Linked DNA regions of Homo sapiens: all the other regions are linked to region 4. Evidence: promoter capture Hi-C in 16 types of primary human blood cells and fetal thymus (Javierre and others, 2016). All regions are on one chromosome and are shown on one strand. Each heading gives the region's core, a stretch centred on a gene start or on the middle of the fragment in contact. The rest is flanking DNA. Distances are from core to core; before and after follow the strand shown.

Region 1 (3,266 bases), core at 241-2,740, 150 kb before region 4:
TCATTTTCAGTTGGCATGTGAGGAGCTTAGCAGTCATCACCCCCAACCTCACAACAAGAAAAACGCTGAACAGACTGAAAATCAACAACTTTTCTTGATCCACCAGAGATCTGAGGCCACAGGGCAAACTGCTGTCCTCAAAATGGAGAGACAGAGAAGCACATACAGAGAACCAGAACTTACGGGAGCAGAGGCCTAGGAGTAGAAAACTCCACAGGAACCAGTACCGGGGTAGGGAAACTTAAAACTTAATTGATGATTTGCTGGGCACTCCATGAGAGAGTTAAAAATACCAGGGGAGCCAGTCTTACAGGGCCCCACACAGTTTTTTGTTTTGTTTTGCTTTACCAAGTTGTCACAGTAAAGATCAGAGAAAAATTCCCTGCTGCTTCTGGTAGAGGAAAAGAAAAGGTAACCCAGAGCATTCTCTTCTTAACAAGGTCTGTCCTCAGGGGAAACTGTTTTACCGGAGCCTGACATGTGGGAAGAGAAATACCCAACTCTACCCTCCTCTAGGCTTCCTGCCCACCTCCAGCGGGGAAAGACAAATGAGAAGCCCTTGTGTTGGTCACAGCCCCTGCAGAGGTTCATTAAAAGACTGAGACCTATAGAATGCTTCGTCCCTCCACCCCTCACTAACACATCAACAGGGCTCCTGTAATAACGAGAATACAACTGAACTGCACATCTCAGACCTGATTTATGAAGAAGACTCTAGGGAAACCCAAAGACAACAGGGAAGCCACAGACAAGAACACCAAAGTAAATGTTATCCTCTGACACCTACAGCTAGAGCAAACGGTAAACACAGCCCAACTCCTAGCCAGATAGAATTCTGTATTCACCAAATTATCCTTCAAAAGTGAAGGAGATACTGGAAATACAATCAAGGTTTGTTGTTTTTTTTTTAAGTGAAGGAGAAGTAAAGTACAGAAAGCCTCACAAAAGGCTTGTTTACCTCAGTTTCTTTTGCCCAACACATCATGTTTTATAAGAGACAAATACACTTTGAATAGACAGAACAAACATCAGAATAAGACAGATATGGCAGAGATGCTTGAATTATCAGACAGAAAATTTTAAATAATTGATTAATATGCTAAGGACTCAAATAAGAAAAGTGGCTAACATGCAAGAACAGAGGAGTAATGTAAGTAGAAAGATGGAAATGCCTAAGAAAGAATCAGGTGCAATGGCCAGATGCGGTGGCTCACACCTGTAATCCCAGCACTTTGGGAGGCTGAGGAGGATCGCTTGAGCCCAGGAGTTCGAGACCAGGCTGGGCAACATAGTGAGACCTTGTCTCTATAAAAAGAAAAAAGGAAAAAAGCAAAACAAAATGCTAGAAATAAAAATAAACACTGTAACTGAAGTGAAGAATGCTTTTAGTGGAGTCATGAATAGATGGGACATGGCCAAGGAATGAATCAGTGAGCTTCAAGGAATGTCAATAGAAACTCCCAAAATTGAAATGCAGAGAGGAAGAAGTAATGGAAATGATGGGATAGAATATTCAAGAACTGTGGGACAAATACCAAAGGTATAAAAGGATAGTGTACACATAATGGGAATACCACACAGAGAAGAAAGAAACAGAAGAAATACTTGAAGTAATAACAGAACTTTCCAAAATTAATGGCAGACACCAAACCACAGGTGTAGGAAGCCCAGAGAACACCAAACAGGATGAATACCCCAAAAAATCTACACCTAAGAATATCTATTCAAACTGCAAAAATCAAAGACATGGGAAGAATATAGAAAGAAGCCAGAGGGGAAAAACATCTTATCTGTAGAAGAACAATGGTAAGCATTATATCATGCTTCACATCAGAAACTGCACCCAAGAAGAGAGTGGTTTATGGGATTTAAAGCGTTGAAAGAAAAAAAACCCATCAACCTAGAATTCTGTATTCACCAAATGTTATCCTTCAAAGGTGAAGGAGATACTGGAAATACAATAAAGGTTTTTTTGTTTTTTTTTTTAAGTGAAGGAGAAGTAAAGACTTTATCAGACAATCAAAAATTGAGAGAATTTGTCACCAGTAGACCTGCCTCGCAAGAAGTGTTAAATTCTTCAGAAGGAAAGGGAAATTATGTAGGTCAGAAACTCAGATCTACATAAAGAAAGGAAGAGTGTTAGAGAAGAAATAAATGAAGGTAAAATAAAAATTTAGCTTTCTCATTTTTAACTAATAGGTAAAGTTTTTTCAGTTAATAGTGATTACAGCTTATGGATAAATGAATGACAGCAGTGTTATAAAGATGGAAGAGAGGAATTGAGAATACTTTTTCATAAGGTATTTGCACTACCCATGAAGTGGTAAAGTGTTTTATGAAAGAAGACTTGAATTAGTTGTAAATATTTACTGCAAAGTCACGGGAAACCACACACATTAAAAAACCCCACAAGTATAATTTGTATGATAAGAGAGGAGTAAAAAGGGAATAATATAAAATGCTCGATTAAAACCAGAGAAAGCAAAACACACACAACACACACACACACACACAACCTGAAAAGGCTAGAAAGAACAAAACAAATCAAGGGCAATGAATAGAAATGGAAGAAATATACTTTAAATATAAAGAAATAGATTAAAAGTAAAGGGATGGAGATACAGTATACTATGTTAACACTAATCAAAAGACAGCTGGAGTGGCTGTGTTAATTTCAGGCAAAGTAGACTTCCTCAGAGCAAGGAATGTTATCAGGGATGAAGAGGGGCATTGCATAGCCATAAAGGGGTCAGTTGTCAAAGATGATATAACAGTGTTTAAAGTGTGTGCACCTAGCAACACAGTGTCCCAAGATGAGGCAAGAACTGATAGAACTGCAGGGAGAAATAAACAAACTCATTTTTATGTTGGAGACTTCAGTACCCCTCTATTTAACAGATCCAGCTGGCAGAAAACTAGCAAAGACATAGTTGAACTCAACAGCATCATCAATCAACTGGATCTAATGGACATCTATAGAATACTTCATCCAATGACAGCAGAATACACATTCTCAAGCTCACTTGGAGCATTCATTCACCAGGATAGACCACATTCTCAGCCATGAAACGCACCTTAATAAATCTAAAAGAACGGAAATTATACAAAGTATGATCTCAGACCACAATGGAATTAAGCTATAAATCAATAACAGATAGCTAGAAAACCCCAAAATATTTGGAGATTAGGCAACACACTTATGACATGTTGGGACAAAGAAGAAGTTTCCAGATAAATTTTAAAATATTTTCAATTAAAATGAAAAT
Region 2 (3,084 bases), core at 67-2,566, 210 kb before region 4:
ACTGTCTTTTGGATTTTTTTTAAGCTTGCAATTTAATTGCCAAAACCACTCTAAAAACTTTGGATATTGTTTTGATAACTTTTAAGCTTAACTGTATAATTTCCAGCATACTCGTCCCAAATTCTGTGGTGGTGTTGTCTAAGTGTATTCTTTAGCTCGAGTCTATTAAACTAGTACTTCTTTACTGTAGTGATTTCTCCCCTTTTTTGCCCTGTCATGCCATACATAATGCTATGTTTTCGTGAAACTCATAAAAAATTCATGAGGATTCCTAAATTTTACAATCATTGTCTTATGCAGTGTCCTTGTAAGGGTTTGTTTTGGAATGCTACACCATGTGTCAGGAAATCTGGGGTAGAGTGTAGCGGGTGAGTTTTGGATGACTGCCCAGTGTCTCTCACTTCTTTGGGAGTGACTCCCAGTGCTGTGCCCCGATCCAGCTGTAACTGATTGAGTCACAGTTTCTAATATTGCCTTGGCCAGTTAAGTCATCTCTCTTGGGGATTTATAATTTAGGTTCTAGACAGGGTATAGCTGAGTCATGTTACTGATGGTACTCTAGTAAAATGATCCTTGAGTTCCCTTTTCTAAGCTCTCTGTGCTGCGTTGGTACTTAACCTTCCCAAGTGTTTAGTCATTCAACTGACTTTGATCCTGAGAAGATTGTTCTTTTTTTCTGGACTTAGCTAGAGATGATTTCTGTAGTTTCAACTAAAATAAATCAAGTCACACATAGAAATGGTGTTAGAGTTATGTGATGGATATATCATGGAGAGCATTCCAAAAGCCAATTATAATTTTCCTTTTTGCCTCCTGCTTTAATTGCCTCTGCTGGTACTGTATGCCTCTCCCCACCCTCCCGTCTTAACTCAGCCATCACAAACTGCATGCAAACATGCCTGTTGTCTGCACACCTTTTTTTTGCAGCTCAGTTTCATATAGATGCACTTCCAGTACACTTTTGAAATATCATATACATACTTTGTGAATAGTGCATGTCACACTATACTGTTACAGTATGCTTGGCTGGCTCCTCATCAGACAGCAGCTCTTAAGGTCAGGCCCTGTGACATACTCCGCCTGGATTCTTGGTGTCTTGCACGTAGTAGACATGAAATACATTCTTGTTGGATTAATTTTTCCTCACCTTATGTTATTCCCACTTAAGGCCTTTATTACTCATTTAACAAATACACGTTGAGTATCCCTTATCCAAAATGCTTCAAATCAGAAGTGTTTTGGATTTAGAATTTTTTCGAGTTTTGGAATATTTACTTATACAGAGTGAGCTATTTTGGCGATGGAACCCAAGTCTAAACACGAAATTCATGTGTCTTATATACATAGCTGGAAGGTAATTTTACACATTATTTTAAATAATTTTTCACATGAAACAAAGTTTGTGTTGGGTGCTTATGTGTGGAATTTTCCACTTGTGGTGTCATGTCAGTGCTCAAGAAGTTTCAGATTTTGGAGTTGTCTGAATTTTCAGATTAGGAATGCTCGAACTCTACCTAGTGTGTGTATGTTCTGGAGACCATTCTGCACTCTGAGGATACCTCAGGAAAACAAACCAAAATATGTCTGCCTTCCTAGAGCTTACAATCTAGATAGTTAAATTTTCCATCTGCATTCTTTTAAATTATGAAGTGTGGCTAAAGTAAACTTTAGGCAACATACAGACTATTGTACGGTAATTGTAAGATTCTATGATATCTCTCAAGTCCTAATACCGTTTTAATAGATAAGTGCCTGTTTCAGTGGGATAATAGAGCTTGTGACTGACAAGGAATCTAATACAGTACTGTGTTGAGTGCCCAGTGAGAACTCAAGAAAAATGTATTTAGGAATTTTGAAAAGTGTATGATTTTGGAAACTTACCTGAATGTGCTATATTTCAGTGACTGTGTATAGCAATGACTCTTTGCAATGCTGTGCTGTCATAATGGTGATAAAATATTTAAAAACTCTTCAAACATTGGCTTTGTAGGCTATTTTATAATTTTTCATATTCTTTTTGAATTTGTAGACACAGCATACTTGGGTTAGTAAAAGTTTGGGTTTTATGAGAACATTTTCAAGCCATTTATCTTGTCATTGACAAGAATAATCTTGTCACTTAACTGTTTCATAGCATGATGTTGGGCATATATATTATTAAAGGCTCTTTGGTCCTTGAAAATTGGTCTGTGGTAGGTTCACATAGCTTAAGTCATATATCTAACAAGAAATATTTGGCTCAGTAAATTTTTAAGAGGGTATACTCAAACACGGAAATACTTTCACTTTTTAAGCTAGAATATTATTGCCATGTTATTTAAAGTTGAGCTACCAGATGGGAGAAAAAATTCACCGGATCCTAAAATACTTGTTAGTATTTTGGCATGTTTAATTTTGTATATTTTTCTCTGCATTTTAAAGCCATAGCTATAATATGCACATATCAAGTTTGTACCCCAGGGCATGTTTTCAGAGTAATTATTTCAAGTAACATTATGTGTTGGTATAGTTAGATGAATCATGTTCTCCCTAAAACTTAAGCTTTCTTGTTTCTAGGGTTACTAGACACAGGACCGTGACTACTGTAAGCCTCAATTTTGTTATCATGAGAAGTACCATTATGAGGAGTAAATGAACTAACAGGAGAGAGCCTGTTGTGGTATTGGCTCTTAGTGGGTACTTAGGAAATGTTAACTTCTCCTTTCTTTGTTTGCTTAAATTATCTTGGGAGAAGGTGCCCATATGTTATTTGACCCTTTAAATAAAATTAAATTTTATAGTTCTTTTCCCTTAAATAATCTTAACCTTATAAAACCCAAGAATGTTCCTGTGTAAAAGAACTTGGTTACATGTTTGCTTGTATTTCTTTGAAAAATAGAGTTATTTATTTTTATTTATTTATTTTTATTTTTGACAGTCTCACTCTGTCACCCAGGCTGGAGTGCGATGGTGCAATCTCAGCTCACTGCAACCTCCGCCTCCCAGGTTCAAGTGATTCTCCTGCCTCAGCCTCCCTAGTAGCTGGGATTACAGGTGTCCACCACCACGCCCAGCTAATTTTTGTATTTTTAATAGAGACAGGGT
Region 3 (3,270 bases), core at 751-3,250, 190 kb before region 4:
GTCTGTGTTTGGAATGGCAAGTAGACTGAAGGGGTTGGACAGTAGTATGGGGCCTGAGGTGGTAGAAGATAAGGTTGGAAATAATAGACCGGTGAAGGGCTTTGAATCAAGATGAGGAATTTTCACGTCTTGTGATTCCACAGGAAGTTTTTGAGGCTGGATGTGAAGCCATCTGGTTTGATTTGATTTAGGGTGCTGATGCCAATGGCATCATGTAGGATGGATTGGAGGGCAGTGGGACTGAGGCAGTGATACAGCTAAACAGAGGTGGTAGTTGGGAAACAGAGGGGTGAGAAGACATTGCAGAGGCAAAGCTGTCATATGTTGGTGACTTAGTGGGAGAGAAGATGGCTAGAGTTGAAGACCTCAGCCAAAATTTTAACCTGAGTGCTGAGACAGTGTTTATTACCTTTCACCAAAATGGAGGGAGAAGTAGATTTGAGGGACCAGGCAAGTTCTCTTTTGAGCATATTAAATGTGACATGCCTAATGAGATAGCCCTATAAATATTATGGGTCTAGAACTTGTAAAGAGATGTTTGGGCTAGAGACCTAGATTTGATGGTTCTCTCCATAGAAAAGATTGTTCAATCAAGAGAGTATAGAGTAAGAAACGAACTAAACAATTTTGAAAGGGGGCATAGCCAGGCAGAGCAGCCAGCGAAGGGGAATGAGCACCTGTGGTCCTGTGCGTTGGAGCAGAGCCTGGAGGGGAATGAGGCTGAGCTGGAGGTGGCAATGACAAAAGCATGGGCCAGTGGCAGGTGCTGCAGAGGGCTTTGTGCAGGTGTGTTGGTAGTCAGGCAGCATCCCGATTGCAAGAAGAGAATAGGGGATGAGCTAGAGGAAAAGTTTGTTTAGGAAGGAAGTTGATGAGACCGTGGCTTCAGAAGGAAAGTAAGAGTTACAGGGAATTTTCTTGGCAAGCCAATTAGTCTGTTCATATATATATGAAGGTTATAAAAGTTTAAGGTTGGCCGGGCGCGGTGGCTCACGCCTGTAATCCCAGCACTTTGGGAGGCTGAGGTGGGCAGATCACGAGGTCAGGAGGTTGAGACCATCCTGGCTAACATGGAGAAACCCCATCTCTACTAAAAATACAAAAAATTAGCTGGACGTGGTGGCGGGCGCCTGTAGTCCCAGCTACTTTGTAGGCTGGGGCAGGAGAATGGCACAAACCCAGGAGGTGGAGCTCGCGGTGAGCTGAGATTGTGCCACTGCACTCTAGCCCGGGCAACAGAGCGAGATTCAAGTTTAGGGTTAAAAATGGGGTAAACTGTACAAGAGAATAGAAACAATTGAGAATTTTTTACCCTTCTCTCCCCATCCCCAGCAGACACACATAGATCCACTCTTTACTAGTTACCTAAATGCTGAATGGTTTGAATGCCCAGGCATCCATAGATAGGCTTTACTTTGGAAGGTTAGTAATCTTATTTTAGTCTAGCATGGTTACCCACGGATTTGCATAGAACTAAATACATACACATAAATGAGTGCAAGTAAAACTGGGGAAGTGTAAATAAGATTAGTGTACTGTATCAACATCAGTATCCTGGTTGTGATACTATACTGTAGATTCGCAAGTTGTTGCTATTGGGAGAGACATTGGATCTCTCTCTCTATCATTTTTTACAACTTCATTTGAATCTGTAATTATCTTCAAAAGATTTTTACAAAAATAAACATTAAAAATTGATGTATGAGTTGTATATTGAAAAACTACTTTATAGGCATACTGGGAGTTTTGGGGGTCATTTGACGACTCAATTCTTCACAATTCCTCATCTCACAAGTGAACTCATGAGTGACTCCACTATACAAGAGAAAAGGGGATTCCAAGTCATGCGGGCGGGACTAGCCTTGGAAGGCAGAGGGGCATGAGTATATCTGAAGCTGAGGAGAGGAGAAAAGGATTCATGCAAATGCAGAGCAAGTTGGCTTTGGAAGAGAAGTGAGGAATGCATACTGTAGTGTGTGTGATGACAGGCTAGCTGGGAGGCGGCAGGAGGGTGGATTGGGTGACCTTTGGTGGGGAGTAGAGGAGTTTCGAACATTGCAGCTTAATGGGTGGATGTAGGAACAGGAGTGTGAAATGGCCTATGTGCCCCACTGTGGCTGGCCACATAAGAAGCATGCTCTTCCTCTTCCCTTTTTCAGGGCTCTTAGACCTGGAGATCCTGGATTCTGTGCCCGTGCAAGGGTCCCAATGCCTTCAAACAAGGACTATGTTGTCAGGCCCAAATGGAATGTGGAAATGGAGTCATCCAGGGTAAGCAAGCGGAGGATCGGCAAGGTGGATCTCACCTGCAGATTACTGTTTGACTCTTTACTTCATGTGTTAATAACCCTTGTAGCTCTTGAAGTTTGTCTGATTCAGAGAGGACTGTTTTCTGGTCGCTTATCTAGCCAAACCACAAATTGAGCAATAGAGAAAGGAAAAGTATTACCCAGGATTAAAGTTTATTGCTGATGAATTTTTCTTCAGTCTTAATTCAACATTATCAGGTAGGGAAGTTTCTTCTTATTAATCCCTTTACTTCAAGCAAGGCTTGAAATTGAAACCTGGAGTATTCTGATACAGTGAATTTTTTTTTTTAATAACCATGAGAAACAGAGCTTACGTGCTTCAGCAGACCTACCTCTCCCTTTCTCTTCAACGGTTTAAGCAATTCCATTGCAAATGATTAGGGTAGACACTTATTCTGTTATCATTGTAAATACTGCTCAGTGGATCTTCAGTGTTTCTCAGTAATCTCTTTTTATTCTCCAATCAAACTACTACTTCTAGCCTGGTATTCTTAAAAAGGGCCTAAGCCGATTGGAAAAGCATAAGAGGCGATTTGCAGAACAGAAACGACTCAGCAAAGTGCATCGTGCTGTCAAGTTCAGCATTGAAGGCAACAGGATGCCCCTATAGGCCTGGCCCTACCAGAGTATATACACGAGAGGTATTCCCAAGGAAGCATGTACTGTGCATGGGCTTGAATTGTCAACAGTCAGAGTGAAAAGTGTGTGTGTGTGTGCTTTCTTAATCAGAAGAGGCCAGGTCTGCTTTTAGTTTCAAAATAATGACCCTAACAGGCACCTTGGGATATTCAAGGCCTCTTGAATATTTAGAAATTGACATGGAAGTCCCTTCCTTTATCAGTATCCTAGAGAGTAATAGATAATTACTTCCCTAATATGCATTTGGGTCTTCCTGACTGGTACCCGTTTTTATGAAAAAGGTTTTTGTTAGGACCCAGAATTACAGTGATATGTGTTACAG
Region 4 (3,180 bases), core at 461-2,960:
AGGCCTCAGTTTTTTTTTTTTTTTTTTTTGAGACGGAGTCTTGCTCTGTTGCCCAGGCTGGAGTGCAGTGGCGTGATCTCTGCTCACTGCAACTTCTGCCTCCTGAGTTCAAGAGATCCTCCTGCCTCAGCCTCCTGAGCAGCTGAGACTACAGGCGCGCGACACCACGCCCAGCTAATTTTTGTATTTTTAGTAGAGACGGGGATTCACCATATTGGCCAGGCTGGTATTGAACTCCTGACCTTATGATCCCCTGCCTCGGCCTCCCAAAGTGCTGGGATTACAGGCGTGAGCCACCGCGCCTGGCCCAGGCCTCACTTTGAACCATCATGTAGAAATTTCCTCAGCAAAATGTCCAAGCTTATCACTTATAAGTTCTACTTTCCACCCAACAGAATACAATTCAGGCAAGCTCTCTACCACTTGCCTCCAGTTTCAATAACATATTTCTCCTTTCCATCTGAGCCGTCACCAGAATCACCTTTAATGCCCATACTTCTACCAAGGCTCTTCAAGACAATAGAGGCTTTTCTATCATGCGCCTCAAAATTCTTTCAGCCTCTACCGATTACCCAATTTGAAAACCACTTCCCCATTGTTAGGTATTTGTTACAGCAGTACCCTATTCCCCGTACCAAAAATCTGTGTTACGTTCTCCAGAGAAACAGAACCAAGAGGCCCACTGAGCAAGCGAGATTGATTGATTGATTTTAAAGAATTGGCTCATGCAATTGTGGGGGTTGGCAAGTTGGGAATTCAGGTACGAGTTGATGTTGTAGTTTTGAGTCCAAAGGCTGGAAACTCAGTCAGAACTTTCTGTGTTGCAGTCTGGAGGCAGAATTCCTTTTTCCTTGAGAAACCTGTCTTTGCTCTTAAGGCCTTCAACTGATTTGGATGAGGCCCACCCGCATTATTGAGGGTAATCTGCTTTATTTAGGCTGAGACATGAGAATGGCATGAACCCGGGAGGCGGAGCTTGCAGTGAGCTGAAATCGCGCCACTGCATTCCAGCCTGGGCGACAGGGCGAGACTCCGTCTCAAAAAAAAAAAAAAAAAAAAGAAAAAAATTTTTTTTGAGACGAACTCTCGGCCTGTCGCCCAGGCTGTAGTGCAGTGGTGCAATCTCAGCTCAGTGCAGCCTTTACCTTCTGGGTTCAAGAGATTCTCCCATCTCAGCCTCCCAAGTAGCTTAGACTACAGGCGTGTGCCACCATGCCTGGCTACTTTTTTTTGTATTTTTCGCAGAGATGGGGTTTCACCATGTTGGCCAGGCTGGCCTCGAACTCCTGACCTCAAGTGATCCACCCACCTCAGCCTCCCAAAGTGCTGGAATTACAGGCGTGAGCCACCGTGCTCAGCCAAATTTTTTTTAATTAAAAAAAAGAATTCTTCCTTACCCATGGACTCAGGTCACATTCTCTCTCTCTCTCTCTCACACACACATTTATTGCCCACATGGCTTCATTAAAATTTAAGTTCCAGAAGGATGAGGCCTTTAATTCGCGCACTACACAGGTGCTCAACACACAGTATTTTCCTTCAGTTGTAGAGAAATGAACAGTGGAGGACCCCCGCCGCTGGGTCGCACGAGCTAACAGATCGGCGGTCGCTGGCTCTCCGCTCTTCCAGCCACCCACATCACGGCGCCTAGAGGCGGGACATCCTGTGTGGACAACAGGGAGCTTCCGGATTGAGCCGGAAGTCCCCCCAGAGCGGATGCCGCGGCGGGCCTGTGGGAGCGGGGTCATCTTCTCTCTGCTGCTGTAGCTGCCATGGGCAAAAGAGACCGAGCGGACCGCGGTGAGACGTTGCGCGGGCACGCTCAGCCACGACTGCCCTTGCCGGCCCTGCCCCCCGCTCTGCCTCGGAGCTGCTCCGGGCCTCTGCGCCGGCCGACCCTGCTGGCCCTCCCGCGCGCACCCCGTTGGGACAGGCCTTTGGGCGGGAGAGATGCTGGACCTGGGCGCAGCCCAGCGAACTCGGCCTAGGGGAGACGGGTGAGGGGCGCAACGCCTGCGGGATGCAGGTGGCTCTTAGCTAGGAGTTTGCGGCGGCGCAGGTGAAATGCTGCCAAGCGGTGCGGAGGGAACCCTGAAGGCTCCTGCTGGGCTTACTTCTGTGTTGGTATCTTGCAGACAAGAAGAAATCCAGGAAGCGGCACTATGAGGATGAAGAGGATGATGAAGAGGACGCCCCGGGGAACGACCCTCAGGAAGCGGTTCCCTCGGCGGCGGGGAAGCAGGTGGATGAGTCAGGCACCAAAGTGGATGAATATGGAGCCAAGGACTACAGGCTGCAAATGCCGCTGAAGGACGACCACACCTCCAGGCCCCTCTGGGTGGTAAGCATGCCCTTAGCTTGGGCAGGGCCCAGGAGTGTGCGGAGCGGCAGCTAAATCTTGGGCATCCTCAGAGTCAAAACTGACATTCAGGATACTGCCCCTAGAACTGGCCGGGAGAGAATTTTCATCCACACACGTTGGAACAGCCCAAGGCAACAGCGAGCAGTTGCGCACACGTGTGGCGGCCGGACCTGGGCTTCCAACAGCTCTAACCCCTCGGTTTACTCTCACTCCTTCCCCAGCCCTACCCCATGTAGTGAATCCTTTTATCTGCCGAATAAATAGCATTTATCATGTAACAGTTTGTTTCCTCAAATAATGGAAGACATGTTCGGTAGCAAGCTTTTGCTCTACTTTAAATAATTAATGTTATACATTTAGTTGAAATCTAGCCAAAAGGTAACTTGAGGATAGCCAGTAAGATGGGCTTTCTCTGTGCAGAATAGTAGGAAACAGCTGTTGACTTTGGAAACACTTTCTTCTATTTTTCTTTACTCTTCTGTATCTGATTAATGTAACAGGCCCCACAGTTGTCTGAAGGAGTGCTTGCAAGAATATCTGTGGTGTTGGGCAGCTTATTCTTTCTTGATAATGATATGGGCAAGAGCCCAGTAGTCTCTGCAACTCATGTTTCCTTGTCTGTTTTGTCCATTTGGTATCTCTCAGGCTCCCGATGGCCATATCTTCTTGGAAGCCTTCTCTCCAGTTTACAAATATGCCCAAGACTTCTTGGTGGCTATTGCAGAGCCAGTGTGCCGACCAACCCATGTGCATGAGTACAAACTAACTGCCTACTCCTTGTATGCAGCTGTCAGCGTTGGGCTGCAAACCAGTGACAT
Region 5 (3,245 bases), core at 36-2,535, 170 kb before region 4:
GGATTTGGTGATGTGTGAACTTGTATTTCCCTTCCCACAGTTCACAGTAGTGTAAGGATTATGTGCTCAGGCTCTGGAGTTTAACCAGACCTAGCCTCAGATCCTGGCTCCAATAGTTTACTAACTCTTTGACTTTGAATAAGTCATTTCCCTAATTGGTCTCTGTGGGAGTAATAATAGCACTTACCTTATAGAGGTGTTGTTAGAAGAAAATAAGATATTATGTGTGGGAATTGTTTGGCATATGGTAAACATTCAAATATTGTGGTATCCATCTTGGTGAAAATTGCCACCCTTCAAGGGCATATACTTATTCCAAATTGAGCACTTTCCATGGCTCAAAATATGTAACAAATGTATTAGTTCATTTTCATACTGCTGATAAAGACATACCCAAGACTGGGTAATTTATACAGGAAAAAGGTTTAAAGACTTCCAGTTACATATAGCTGGGGAGGCCTCACAATCATGGCAGAAGGCAGGAGGGGCAAGTCACGTCTCACATGAATGGCTGCAGGCAAAGAGAGAGCTTGTGCAGGAAAACTCCCGTTTTTAAAACCATCAGATCTCATCAGACTCATTCACTACCCGAGAACAGTGGAGGAAAGACCCACCCCCACAATTCAATCACCTCCTACTGGGTTCCTCCCATGACGTGGGAATTGTGGGAGATACAATTCAAGATAAGATGTGGTTGGGGACACAGCCAAACCATATCAACAAGTCTTTTTTTTTTAGTAGAGGCAAGGTTAGTCCCACTATGATGGCCCAGGCTGGTCACCAACTTCTGGGCTCAAGCAATGCTCCTCCAGCCTTGGCCTCCCAAAGTGCTGGGATTATAGGCATGAGCCACCACACCCATCCAGTTAACAAGTCTTAACATTGCCTTAAGAGTCTTTTGAATGTCTATAAATGGTAAAACAACCAACTAGCCAAAAACCTTTGCTCTTTCAAGAAAGAGCAGGTTTGGAGTAATAGCTATGTGATTCCAAGCCAAATATGCTGATTCAGATAATTAGTGAGTCAAGATAATTACCTTTGGGGTCAAAGTAATGTGCTTCTTGTAACTCATGAAGATGCACCCAGAAGAGGCCTCCAGCAGAGTGGGCAGCAGCTGTGCTGCGGGAGCCCGAGCTTGCAGCCTCCGGAGCAGGCACTTCTCGGCTCTATACCATTCACCCCCATGTGGTTTTTACATTATTACTTTTTAGATGGAAAGTAACCTCCTCATGGTTAAAAAAAGAAACAGTTCAAAAGGGTAAGAAAAATCTCCCTACCACAGGGAGGAAATCAGTTTCTGCTCTCTTATAGGACTGTCCGTAGCTATAAAGTCCCTTTTTAAAAGCATATGGGGCCTGGCATGCACACTGCTGTACGCCTTTCTCTTCCCACTCATCACACTGCTGACAAAGATCTCCTGAGTGGGAGGCTTTGAAGCACTGCCCCCACAGAGAGGTACATGATACCCAAGAAATGCCCAGGGCTGGCTTTGGGGCCCCCAGATTCTTAAACGCTGCCAGAGCATGTAATTGCCCCAGTTCCTTACTCTAAAATTCCTATTTTCTGGCTCTCTGACTTGTTTTGTTTTTGTTTTTTTGAGACTGAGTATCTCTCTGTTGCCCAGGCTGGCGTGCAATGGCATGACCTCCACTCACTGCAACCTCCACCTCCTGGGTTCAAGTGACTCTCCTGCCTCAGCCTCATGAGTAGCTGGGATTACAGGCATGCGCCACCATGCCCAGCTAATTTTTGTATTTTTAGTAGAGATGGGGTTTCAGTGTTGACCAGGCTGCTCTTGAACTCCTGACCTCAGGTGATCCACCTGCCTCAGCCTCCCAAAGTGCTGGAATTACAGGTGTGAGCCACTACCCCCAGCCCTGGCTCTCTGAGTTTTAAACCACTTTCTTCAAATTTTGCTGCCAACTCTAATAGTTAGACTTCTTTTGGAGGGTGAAAGGAAGGCAGGAGACTGGGAGGAGAGAAAAGAAAATGGGCGGGTTGGGGGGAAGAAAAAGGGAAAAAAGAAAACCTTTTACATTACAAGGGTAACTACAAAAATGACAACTGTGTCAAAACAACAAAACCAGGTTGAGACCGCCTGGATGCCTGTGGTCAACCGAGTTTGCCCAGTAACTCTGGGACTCAGGGAGAGGGAGGATCTGCGAAAGAAAGCCACTCCTACCTCCTAGGTTTGTGGATTACAGGCAATGGTGTCGGTAAGAGGCCCAGTTCCGGGGATTCCCAGGGCGGATGCTAGAACAAGAACTCTATATCCAGCTGTCCAGGGTCTCACAGCAATAAGTGGTCAAGTCATGGATTTACATCTGACTCCAAAGGCTTTTCCATTACCCACTCATCTCCCATTTCCTTCAGTGGATAGGAGGGCCCAGGAGGGCCTGGAAGCCTGGGCTGAGTGAGTACTGTCAGCCACAGCTGGAGAGAGGCCACACACAGGCCCATCCACCCAGTGTGACGCGGTAAGGCGCCCCGCCCCCCAGGCCATGTGCAGAGGCGACCACCCAGCATCTGCTGATTAAGCTGCTACTGTAGAAGTCCCTGTTTTGGTCTTCCTAAATCAGGGCCTGGGAAAAAGACATGAAGAGGTTTCAGTCCTCCATTTTCCCAGAACAAAAGACTTTTCCTGTCCACATCATATCACTGGCCCGGAATGCATCCGCTGCAACCTCAGCGCCTTCAGCACGATGCAGCACTGCCAGCCGGCCTGGCTCGAGGAGCCTTGGCCAGGATTTACCACCTGCCCCACGTTTTTGAGGATTTCATCACGTGGTGTAATATGATTGCAATACAATTCTTGAAAGATATTGTTTTTACTTTAGCTTTTTCTTTTAATGTAACAGCTTTACTGAGATTTAATTCACATGCTGCAGTCATTTTAAAGAGGTAATTCCATGGTTTTTTTTTTTTTTGTATATTCACAGTTATGTAACCATCCCCACAATCCATGTTTAAATATTCTTATCACCCCAAAAAGAAGTCCCATAACACTCCCCATTTCCCCTCCTACCAGTCCTCAGCAACCACTGATCTACTTTATGGATTTGATTATTCTTTACGCTTAATATAAATGGAATCCTACAATGTGTCGCCTTTTGTGTCCGGGTTCTTTCCCTTTGTATAAGCTTTTCTAAGGTCATCCATATTGTAGCATTTCTTGTAATGACTGAATAATATTCATTTTATGGATATGCCACATGGTGCTTATGCATTCATTAGTTGATAAACAT

Evidence for each region. The method cuts DNA at HindIII sites, captures the fragments that hold promoters and counts their contacts. A CHiCAGO score of 5 or more calls a contact.
Region 1: a contact is called between a fragment that was not itself captured here and the fragment with the promoter of ERCC3 in region 4, in 5 of 17 cell types (endothelial precursors, M2 macrophages, erythroblasts and 2 more). The highest score is 7.2, in endothelial precursors.
Region 2: a contact is called between a fragment that was not itself captured here and the fragment with the promoter of ERCC3 in region 4, in 16 of 17 cell types (endothelial precursors, erythroblasts, megakaryocytes and 13 more). The highest score is 13.1, in endothelial precursors.
Region 3: a contact is called between a fragment that was not itself captured here and the fragment with the promoter of ERCC3 in region 4, in 11 of 17 cell types (neutrophils, endothelial precursors, M2 macrophages and 8 more). The highest score is 8.4, in neutrophils.
Region 5: a contact is called between a fragment that was not itself captured here and the fragment with the promoter of ERCC3 in region 4, in 8 of 17 cell types (endothelial precursors, M1 macrophages, megakaryocytes and 5 more). The highest score is 13.1, in endothelial precursors.

Annotation. Positions count from the first base shown.
Region 1 is chr2:127,446,902-127,450,167 of GRCh38, reverse strand. No RefSeq gene overlaps it. Among named protein-coding and RNA genes, the nearest start is that of MIR4783, 25 kb to the right of the region's middle. The HindIII fragment of the contact is 3,775 bases long and covers 1-3,266 here.
Region 2 is chr2:127,506,192-127,509,275 of GRCh38, reverse strand. The region is part of intron 2 of IWS1 (interacts with SUPT6H, CTD assembly factor 1); the gene reads left to right. Among named protein-coding and RNA genes, the nearest start is that of IWS1, 19 kb to the left of the region's middle. The HindIII fragment of the contact is 2,455 bases long and covers 89-2,543 here.
Region 3 is chr2:127,485,554-127,488,823 of GRCh38, reverse strand. IWS1 (interacts with SUPT6H, CTD assembly factor 1) reads left to right here. Exons shown (of 14, transcript NM_017969.3): 13 at 2,160-2,271. Among named protein-coding and RNA genes, the nearest start is that of IWS1, 39 kb to the left of the region's middle. The HindIII fragment of the contact is 8,127 bases long and covers 1-3,270 here.
Region 4 is chr2:127,292,674-127,295,853 of GRCh38, reverse strand. It overlaps ERCC3 (ERCC excision repair 3, TFIIH core complex helicase subunit), which reads left to right and starts at 1,710. Exons shown (of 15, transcript NM_000122.2): 1 at 1,710-1,800; 2 at 2,136-2,341; 3 at 3,008-3,180. The coding sequence starts at 1,773. The HindIII fragment of the contact is 2,323 bases long and covers 363-2,685 here.
Region 5 is chr2:127,462,822-127,466,066 of GRCh38, reverse strand. No RefSeq gene overlaps it. Among named protein-coding and RNA genes, the nearest start is that of MIR4783, 41 kb to the right of the region's middle. RefSeq lists an enhancer at 1,861-2,468. The HindIII fragment of the contact is 3,714 bases long and covers 1-3,142 here.